Regions from separate parts of the Homo sapiens genome. Here region 2 is linked to region 1. Evidence: promoter capture Hi-C in human tissues and cell types (Jung and others, 2019). All regions are on one chromosome and are shown on one strand. Each heading gives the region's core, a stretch centred on a gene start or on the middle of the fragment in contact. The rest is flanking DNA. Distances are from core to core; before and after follow the strand shown. Region 1 holds the start of KIF26A (kinesin family member 26A). Region 2 has its middle 24 kb from the start of C14orf180.

Region 1 (4,635 bases), core at 1,664-4,163:
CAGGAAGCCCGGAGGCGAGGGCCTCTAATAGCCAGGCCGGGTCCCAGCAAGTCTCTCCACTTCTCTGGGCTTCTGAAGATCCAAGCATGAGACAGATGGATGATTGTGAAGTTCCCTGTAAACAGCTATCCTCAAGGAAGCTCATCTCTCCCCTAAAAAATACGAAACGGGCCCCTGGGGAAATCCTAGAACACCAACCCTAAATACCCCTTGCCACGTTGGCCTTACAGAGCAGAGGCCAGGGCCCACTGGACAGTGCACCAGACTCCGGGGAGCACACTGGGGTCTCCCTGGCCACCCCAGAGATTTCCCTCCCAACCCAAACACAGAAGCAGCCATGTCCACACATCTGGGCCCAGCGGGCCAGGCCAGGGCTGCAGGCTGCAATTTTGCTGGGACTCTGGGGACAGCCCAGGCCCGCACAGGGGACAGGACAATGACACCCGTAAGGCCCCAGGATGGCAGGTGCAGCCCCCCATGCCCTGTGGAGAGACAGTGGAGGATGGGGTCTTCTCTCCCGGGGGCACAGCACCCTGCAGGTGGGACAGCACTTCACAACAGGCCCCAGGTGACAGAGGAGACCACAAAGCAGAAGAAGGGGGCCCAGAGCAGAACAAAGCCCTGGCTGAGACCAGCCCGGGACCCCGGTGTGCTGAGTGCCAGCGCCAGCTAGGGAAGGGGGAGCCCCCAGCTGGCACTCAAGAGGAGTTTCCAGTGTCAAAGGCCAAGCTCAGGGGAGGCTGGAGATGGGTGGTCTGGGGCTCCCCTGAAGACCTGTCTGCCAGAAGAGACCAAGACACCCCCCTAGATGAGGAACCTAGAATCCACCAGGGACTAGTATCACCTGCAGCCCTCTCCACTAGGACCCCTGGCCTGCCCGTGACCAGGAGCCCCCTCCCCTCCACGAGTCCATGCCAGGACCATGGCCCCAGGGCCAGGCAGCATCAGCAGTCCAAGCCCACTCCAAGAATGAGGAGACCAGCTCAATCTTAATGCCCCTCCTGTCTCTGGCGTGTTTCCCCTAATGGGGCAGCAAGATGGGCCTTTAGCTCTGGCTGGCCCTCTCCAGGGGGCCCTCAAGGGTCTCCTGCTACCTTTTAAACTAGATACAGGCCACTGGGGCACAGAGTATGGCCAAGGCTGCAGCCTGTCCAGAGCAGAGGACAGGGCGGGTCCAGCCCCACCCCAGGACAGGCCCACAGGCGCCTGGCCTGAGCCAGAGAGAGGCTACAGCAATCCTATCCCTCGCCGAGACTCCAGAGAGCCCGGAGACGGTGCCCAGGACAGAAACCAGACTGGTACCCTGCCCCACCCTGCCCTGCCCCAGACAGGGCAGTCAGGGTCTCAGCTCACTCCAACCCCCACAGCCCTTAGAGAACTATATTTAGATTCAATGGGGATTATGCGGACTTCCCAGGAACTCTTTCATAAAGGCTGAAGGCCCGGCAGCGGGCTTCCTCTGGAGACCCCCACCCGCCCCCAGCCTTTGCAAACTTCCAGCATGCATTGTTCCTGGAACAATGGTCCCTGCTCCCTCCAAAGCCGGCAGGCCCACTGGCTGGAAATCCAGGAGAACCCCTCCCCTGCAAGCACCTGCCCCTGGGGCTGGAGCCTGGGGAACCCAGAGGGCCCCGACTCAATTCCCCATGGGCGGCCACTGCCTCAGTCTATCCCAGGAGGTATGGGACAACAGTTCTTATCCTTGAGGCTGGGAGAGGAGTAGGCAGGGACCCCCCAGCTGCTGTGGCCCACCCTTTCACCTGCCAGGCCCCCCGGCCCCAGGTATGTAATTTCCAGACACCTGGCTGGGGGCCCAGGTGCCCCAAGGGCCACAATGCACCAAATAACCTCTCCCTGCTGGTAGGGCTGGAGCTGTCCCGCCCTGGGTGGAGTCCCTGCCATCCGCTCTCTCCCCTCCTCCTCCCACACAAACCTGCGTTCCAGCTGTGGGACATCTGGGCTGGGGGAGGAACGCCAGCCCAGGCCCCTCCCATCCGAGGCAGCAGGGCCCCTCGGGCTGAGCTCCCTAGCTCACACATGGTGTTACAGACCGGGAAACTGAGGCCCGCAGAAGGGAAGTCCTGGCTGATAACTCTTTGTGGAAACAGCAGCAGGGAAGGAGTGGAACCCTGCTTCCCTCCAAGCCCCAAGTTCTACCCAAGTTCGGCGTGGCCCTGCTCGGAGGGGTCGGCCTAAGGAAGTGTCACTTACCCGGAGGGTGGTCCCGGGCCCGCTGACCAGCTTCCACGCCTGTCGCTTGAGCTCCACCAGCTTCGTGTGGCAGTGGCGGCACCAGCCGCCTCCGCCGGCCGAGTGGCCCTGCTCTGGGCCGGCCCCGGCGCCTTCGGGAGCAGGGCGGCTGCCGCATGGGTCCTGGTCGGGCCCGGCGGGTAGCCTCTTTCGGGGGGACACCTCCAGCAGCGGCGGCGGCTCGCGGGCCGGGCCGCCCTCGGCCACCTGCAGGGTGTGGGGGCGGAAGCGGACAGTGAGCCTGGGACGTCCGTCGGATCCAGACCCCTGCGCGCCCTGCCCCAGCGTGACGCTCTTGCCAAAGTTAGGAGCCCTGGGCACGACCCTGGCGCTCACCCACTCCCTCCATCCCCGGAGGTCCCGCCTGCGGGTCCGCTACCCTCAGCAGGAGGCCCGGCCCCCAGGGATCCAGCGCACACCGCGAGTATCTTCGCCGTCCCGGGCCCCCGCCGCCCGCCTCCCTCTCCAGGCCGGGCCGCGCGTACCGCGGGCTGCGCAGCGCACAGAGGGACGCCGCGGCCGACCATGGCCGGGGCGCGGGAAGAGCCCGGCAGGCGCTCCCGGCCACGCTGGCTCTCCGGGGGCGCCGCGGCTACGTGATCCGGCCCCGAGGCGCCCCCATGGCCCGGCCCAGCCGCTCGGAAGTTCGCAGAGCCTGCGAGTGTCGCGAGGAGCGCGGTGGCTCCGGTGGGCGCGCTCGGGAGGCGAGGGCGGGGCCGGGGAAGGGCGGGGCTCGGGCTCCCGGGGCGGGCGGCGAGGGGCGGGAGCCCAGAGAGTGCCCCGCCCTTGCCCAGTGCTGGGCGGCGCGTGGGGGGGGTAGGGTCCCCGCTTCCCCACGCGGCCCCGCGCACTCCAAGGACCCCAACCTGTTAGGTGAGTCCCTGCCCCGGGGAGGGGCGCTGGGGGCGGCGGCGAGGATCTAGTTGCGCGCGCGCATGCGCCTCCCGCCCCTCTCCCGGGACACCAGGGCTGCGCGTCTCCCAGGAGGCGCCGACGCCCCTCCCTCTACAGGCGGGAAAACTGAGGCTGCGGAGGGGACGCTCTTGCCCAAGGCCCACGGCGAGGTGGGCCGAGGAAGGGGCGGGACCCCGGCCCCGAGACTCCCAGGCGCCTTTCCAGCAAGCCCAGCGTACTCTGCGTGTCGCGGGCCACTTTAGGTCTAACTGTCGCGCGTGGGTTAGTGTCGCCGCGGTGTGCGCCTCGAGCCGGGCAGCGACCGCGCCGGCGTATCTGTGCCTCGGCGCGTCTGCGAACGGCACGTGTCTTTACAGCCGCGCGTGTGCCCGCAAGTGGGTGTGCGCGCCGTGCCGCCCGGGAAGCGGGAGGTCCTGCGGGCGTGCGCCGGACCTGTTGTCAGCAGGCCTGGCAGATGGGAACTCAGCTCCGGAATTAATTGCTTGTTTGTCTCCGGCTGGGAGGCCGCCCCCCCGCCCTTCCCTGGCGACCAGTTGCTCTGTGCCTAGCCGGGCCCCAAATGTCGCCGGCATCCGCGGCCGCAGGCAGCTCCGGGCCAGGCTCCGGGTCAGCCCCAAAGCCCGGGTCAAGCCAGGCGGGCGCGGCGGGCGGGCTCCCCGTGACGCGAGTGCCCCCTGCCGGCCGCTGCGCACACGGCTCCGAGACTGGGGAGACAGCGCCGCGCGTCCCAGGCCTGAGGCGCACTCGGAAACTCCGAAGGTCGTGACCCGGCGGAGACCAGGACACGCGGCTGCCGGCACATACGGTGAGGCCTTCGCAGAGACTCAGTACGTCAAAGTGACCCTTTCCGTTTTGCCCACCCCCTTTTACTTGGATAAGCCTCCCCGCCCACGCACGCACTCCCCAGAAAGTGGGGTGGGTGATCCCCTCCCGGCTTTCCGGGTCGTTGATGACCTTAGGGGTTCGAAAACGCAAGGGGGTATGGAATAAAGTGGCAGGGGCTCTCCACTCTTTCTGAGATCCGTAAGCCTGCAGTCGCTTTCCACCCAGCCTGGGGGGCCGGAAGCGCTTCCCCTACCCGTCTCTTCGCAGCCTGGAGAATGAAAACGGGCGTCAGCCCACATCTGGATCTGGGTACTGAGGACAACACCCAAACCCCACCCCGCACTGCCGGCAGACAGCACCGCCTCCCGCCGCTCCACTGCTCCGGGACACACACTCTCTATATCCCGTCCCCCCACCCACACACGCAACACAGAAGCACGCAGCGGTCGGGAGCACCGGTCCTGCGCCCCTGGCCAGCCACACCCGCAACTTCAGCGCTTCTACCGCCGCGGCGCTTCGGGAAGCACAAGCTCACATCCCATATCCGCAGAACACGGGGTGCACAAGGCTGGAGTCACCTCGGGGGCTCACGATCAGTCAGGGGCCCCGACCCCCTACTTCGCCCATCCTAGCAAGGCGCAAGGT
Region 2 (4,374 bases), core at 113-2,612, 420 kb before region 1:
AGCCTGGTTCCTCCTCCTAGCTGAGCCTGATTCCACCTCCCAGCTAAGTCTGGGTCCACCTCCCAGCTGAGCCTGGGGCCACTTTCCATCTGAGCCTGAGTTCACTTCCTGGCTGAGTCTGGGCCCACCTTCCAGCTGAGCCTGAGTCCACCTCCCAGCTGAGCCTGAGTCCATCATCCCAGCTGAGCCTGAGTCCACCTCCCAGCTGAACCTAGGACCATCACCTCAGCTGAGCTTGAGTCCACTTCCGAGCTGAGCCTGTGGCCATCATCCCAACCGAGTCTGAGTTCATTTCCCTGTTGAGCCTGGGTCTACCTCCCAGTCAAGTCTGAGTTCACCTCCCAGCCGAGCCTGGGTCTACCTTCCCAGCTGAGATGGGCCCTTGTGATTTGAGCCTATATCCCTATGGAGCCGTGTTCACCATGAGTGATTTTGTGGGTCCCTTCATTTGGTGACTTCTGGGTGTCAAGCACAGAGAGTTAAGTGAATCCCACCTGGATTGGCTGGGGGTCCCCAGCCAAGCATGCCCATCCTCTTGGTGGCCCACTCCTCACAAGCCTGGGACATCAGACCCTTGGGCAGCTCCTGAGCCCGACACACAGGGTCTGTTGGTGTGTCCTGGAATGGTGGGGAGGTGGTCCCTGGAAGAAGAGTAGGGGTGATCTGGCACACTGCTCTCTCCACGAGCCGTGGCCCGTCAGAGCCTGAGCACCTGAGGGACTTTGCCAGGCCTCTCAGCACTGGAACTGCTTCTCTCTGTCAGGCATCTGCTGCTGGCTCCAGAGGGGGATCTAGACAGGGGAGCAGAAGCCTCTCCAGCCTTGCCCTCAGATGGGCTGTGCGGAGGAGGGTCTCCTGCTCCCTGGGAACTAGAAGACATGGCAGAGAAGTCTGTGGTTTCCTTTGATTCTGGAAGGTTCTGGGGCAACTAGGGAAGGGTCAGGTTAGAGACTCTTACTGGGGAGGGGTGGCCAGCCGGGAGTGGACACAGTGACCATTTCCTGCAGGGCTTGGGGGCCTGGCTGGGGGCTGGCTGTGGGGGCTCAGGGCGTCACTCCCTGGGTGGGTGAGGGGGCCTGGGGGCTCCTGCAGACGCTGCCTTCCCTGACTCCCTGTCTTCTCTCAGCTCCCCGGGGCCTTTGGCCATAATTTGGTTTGGGCATCCTCAGTCTGTGTGGGCTGGAAGTCCCTGAGGGGATCTCCTTTTGGGCTCCTCTCCTTGGGCTGCAGGAAGAGGGGGTGACCCTCTGGCCCACGTGAGCCTGTCTGGCCGGGCCAGCCCATTGCCAGTGTCCACTGGGACAGGATTTGAGGGCCATGATGGCCACTTCCTCTGAGCTCCAGGTTGGACAAGGCTGCACAGGGAGCTCGGGTGTCCCTCTGGGCCAGAGGAGAGCCCTGGACCCCGGGGGACCAGCCCAGGCACAGTGTCACCGCAGCCCTCTTGTCTATCCCTGAGTGCCCCACCTGCTCCTGAGTGGCCCCCTAGTCCCTCGTCCCTCCAGGGGTGCAGAGCTTCATGCAGGAGGCTGGGAGCCTGGGGTGAGGGGCAGGGCTGGGCATGTCTTCAGAACGATGTGCTCCAGCAAAGCCCAAGCCGGGGCTCCAGCAAAGCCCAAGCAGGGGCTTCAGCTGCCACAGCCTCTGGCTTTGAAGATGGCAGCCCCGACAGCTTCTTTTCCATCTATAGTGCCTTTTTCAAGCTCTGGGCTTCAAAGCCAGCCTCGTAGCTCCTGGAGAGGCTCAGCCCCTGCTGGATATGACTGGGGTGGGGTGGGGATGGGAGATGGGGGAAGAAGAGCTGTGTCCCCAGGGACAGCGCTGGTGGCCTCAAGCCACTGAGATTGAACTTGAGGGAAGGGAAGCTGTGACCCCAGGGCAGATGGCAGATGCTCAGTTGGGTGTTTGCTCCTGGGAAAGGAGCAGAGATGACTGTGGATGGCCATCTCCACAACCCCCTCCCCAGCTCTGCAGAGCAGCCGCTTTTCTAGGAGCTCATCCAGTCCTTGCTGTACAGGTAGGGAAACTGAGGCTCAGAGAGACTCGCCCACAGCTGCACAGCAGGCAGGTGAGGGGCTGGACCCCTCCTGGGTCCTTCTTTCTGGCAGGGCTCACATGGCTCTGATTTTGGACTGCTGATCCCCACCTGGAGACCCACTAGGTGGGGAGCCTGCCCCTGGTCCCGCAAGCCCAGAATCTCTCCACAGGGCTTTTCAGTGAGGCCGCCGAGCCTCCAGCCTCCTCTTTGTTCTGCCCAGCGCAGTGCCTCAGCAGCTTTCTCCATGGCTGGATGCATCCTGAAATTATCTTTCCATTAAAAATAAATGCCCCATTTTATCTGCCTGAAATGGCCCTGCTCTCTGATTGTCTTTTCCGTGCCGCTGTATATGGAGAACTATAAAATCATAATACAACTATTAATCCCCTGTATCTGCTTGTACCTAATTTTTATTAAAAATATCCTGTGCTCCAGCTGCCTTGTAAATTATAGTGAGGTTGAAAAGTCTCCAACTGGATTAGCCAGGAAGGAGAGCGTATTGGATCGGAGACAGGCTCACTCTGGAGCACGGGGCCTGGCGGTGTGGGTTAGGAACATGGCAAAGCGATGCTGGGGCTGCCCCGTGCCCTGGGCAGCTGGGGGAAACTGGTCTCCATGGCTCAGTGGCAGCCTGCCTCCCCCTCCCAGCCTGGGCTCCCTGGGCCTGGGATGGGCTCAGGGGTCTGGTGCAGAGGAGCTCAGGGCCACCAGAAGTCCTGGCTCTGCTGCTCCTGGTGTCACCCCATGCAGACTCAGGCTTGAGTCCAGCTGCCATGACCATGGGCCATGGGACTCTTCTGAGGTGCAGTTTGCCCCCTGCACAGAGGAGTCACAGCGGTGCTGAGGGGAGGGCGGGGAGCAGAGTCCGGGGGTCTTTGCCTTCCAAGGTAGGCATACCCCCACCCCTCCGAGGCCTAGCATGGCTCCTGCCCTTCTCTCCCCTTGAAAGGGGCCGCAGCCACTCTGAGGGCTTCCTGGGTGGCCGTTGAGGCTCCGAGCTCCAGCGGAATGAGCTTCTCTGACATCATTCGATGAAGCTGGCACACTGCCCCAGGCCCTCACAGTCCAGGCAGACGAAGGGGAGCCCAGGGCCCCTTCCTCCCAGCCCGAGCCCTGCCTGGCTTGTTGTGTGGGGACAGGAGATGCCGCGGGGGCTGGGGTGACAGCTGGACGTTCGCTGGCAGCCACCCACAGCCAGCATTGCAGGAGGGAGGCCCCGGCCTGCAGGAGGGCAGCGAGGCTGAGGATAGAAGCATGCCTTCGGCAGGCTGCGGGTGCTGGGGGCCGTTGTGGCTGGGTTGTGAAGGTTCCCGAAGGTCCAGCTCTGCAGCCTCGCCTCTGAGTCGGGCTGACCTCCCAAAGTAGGCCTTTCAGAGGGAGGAAGGCAGGACGCCGCCCGATGGTGGCTGCAAGGCTGATGGTGGCACAGCGAGGGATTCAGGGATGTGTGTGAGTGCTGGGGCTTAGGGAACAGCAGGACAGAGGTGGCCCCTCCTCTTGGGGGTCCCCCCTCACTGCGGAGGGGGTGTTGGCCAAATCCACAGGTGCCACAGAGCTGTGGACAGACAGCGGCCATGGGGTGCCCCACCTCTGAACTTGGGACCTCCAGTCAGCTCCAGCCCCCTCCTGCCCTCCTGTCTCCTCACCCCAGGCGGCCTTGGCTTTCCCTGCTCGGCTCCCGCCCTCCACTCGAGAGGCCTGGATCCTTGTGCCTCAGGGAGTGTTTGGCTCACAATGGTGGGGGGGGGGTCCCAGGCTGAGGACTGGAGGGGCTGCACAGAGGAAGGGCCCCTTCCCAGAGTGGATGGGTTGGGCAGTGGGGCCCTGTTGCCCCTGACACCCCAGAGTGGCCAGGCCCCTCTGCGGGTCTCTATGTGAGCTCCTTCCTCAAAAGGTGGTTGTGGAGAATTCCAAGCACACCACGGGGAGGGGACAGTGCTGTGGACTCCGTTTCCCTCCGCCAGCCTCCCAGTGCCGACCCGCAGTCTCCTCTCTCCTCTCCAGCATCTGCATGTCCACACCTGGGGGGTTTGGAGCAAATCCCCAGGGTTGGATTCATGTATCTGTAAATATCGCTAAACAATAAGGCCGCCTTGAAAAGTAGCCACAGTGTGGTTATACCTAACAATGAAAAACAACGTCTTCACATCATTGCATACTTAGCTACCGTTCACATCTCCCCGGTGTCCTGTGTCTGTTTCTACAGGGTTGCGCCTCTGCCGGTCTTTTCCCCTGTGCAGTTTGTGTTTTGCAGAGGCTGGCTGTTTGTCCCAGAGTGTGCCCAGGGTCTGTGGCGGTGGCACCACGCCCACTGTCCTCAGTCCCCTGCCTGGCCT

Evidence for each region. Contacts are between HindIII fragments. The study calls those that stand out against the background at their distance.
Region 2: a fragment that was not itself captured here is called in contact with the fragment with the promoter of KIF26A in region 1 in 1 of the 25 tissues and cell types used here (lymphoblastoid cells).

What each region holds. Positions count from the first base shown.
Region 1 is chr14:104,136,865-104,141,499 of GRCh38, reverse strand. KIF26A (kinesin family member 26A) reads right to left here and starts at 2,913. Exons shown (of 15, transcript NM_015656.2): 1 at 2,736-2,913; 2 at 2,212-2,457. The coding sequence starts at 2,777. KIF26A-DT (KIF26A divergent transcript) reads left to right here and starts at 2,871. Exons shown (of 3, transcript NR_158217.1): 1 at 2,871-3,970; 2 at 4,258-4,633. RefSeq lists a silencer at 3,745-3,914 and enhancers at 3,611-4,322, 4,323-4,635. The HindIII fragment of the contact is 16,750 bases long and covers 1-4,635 here.
Region 2 is chr14:104,553,591-104,557,964 of GRCh38, reverse strand. No RefSeq gene overlaps it. Among named protein-coding and RNA genes, the nearest start is that of C14orf180, 24 kb to the left of the region's middle. The HindIII fragment of the contact is 7,980 bases long and covers 1-4,374 here.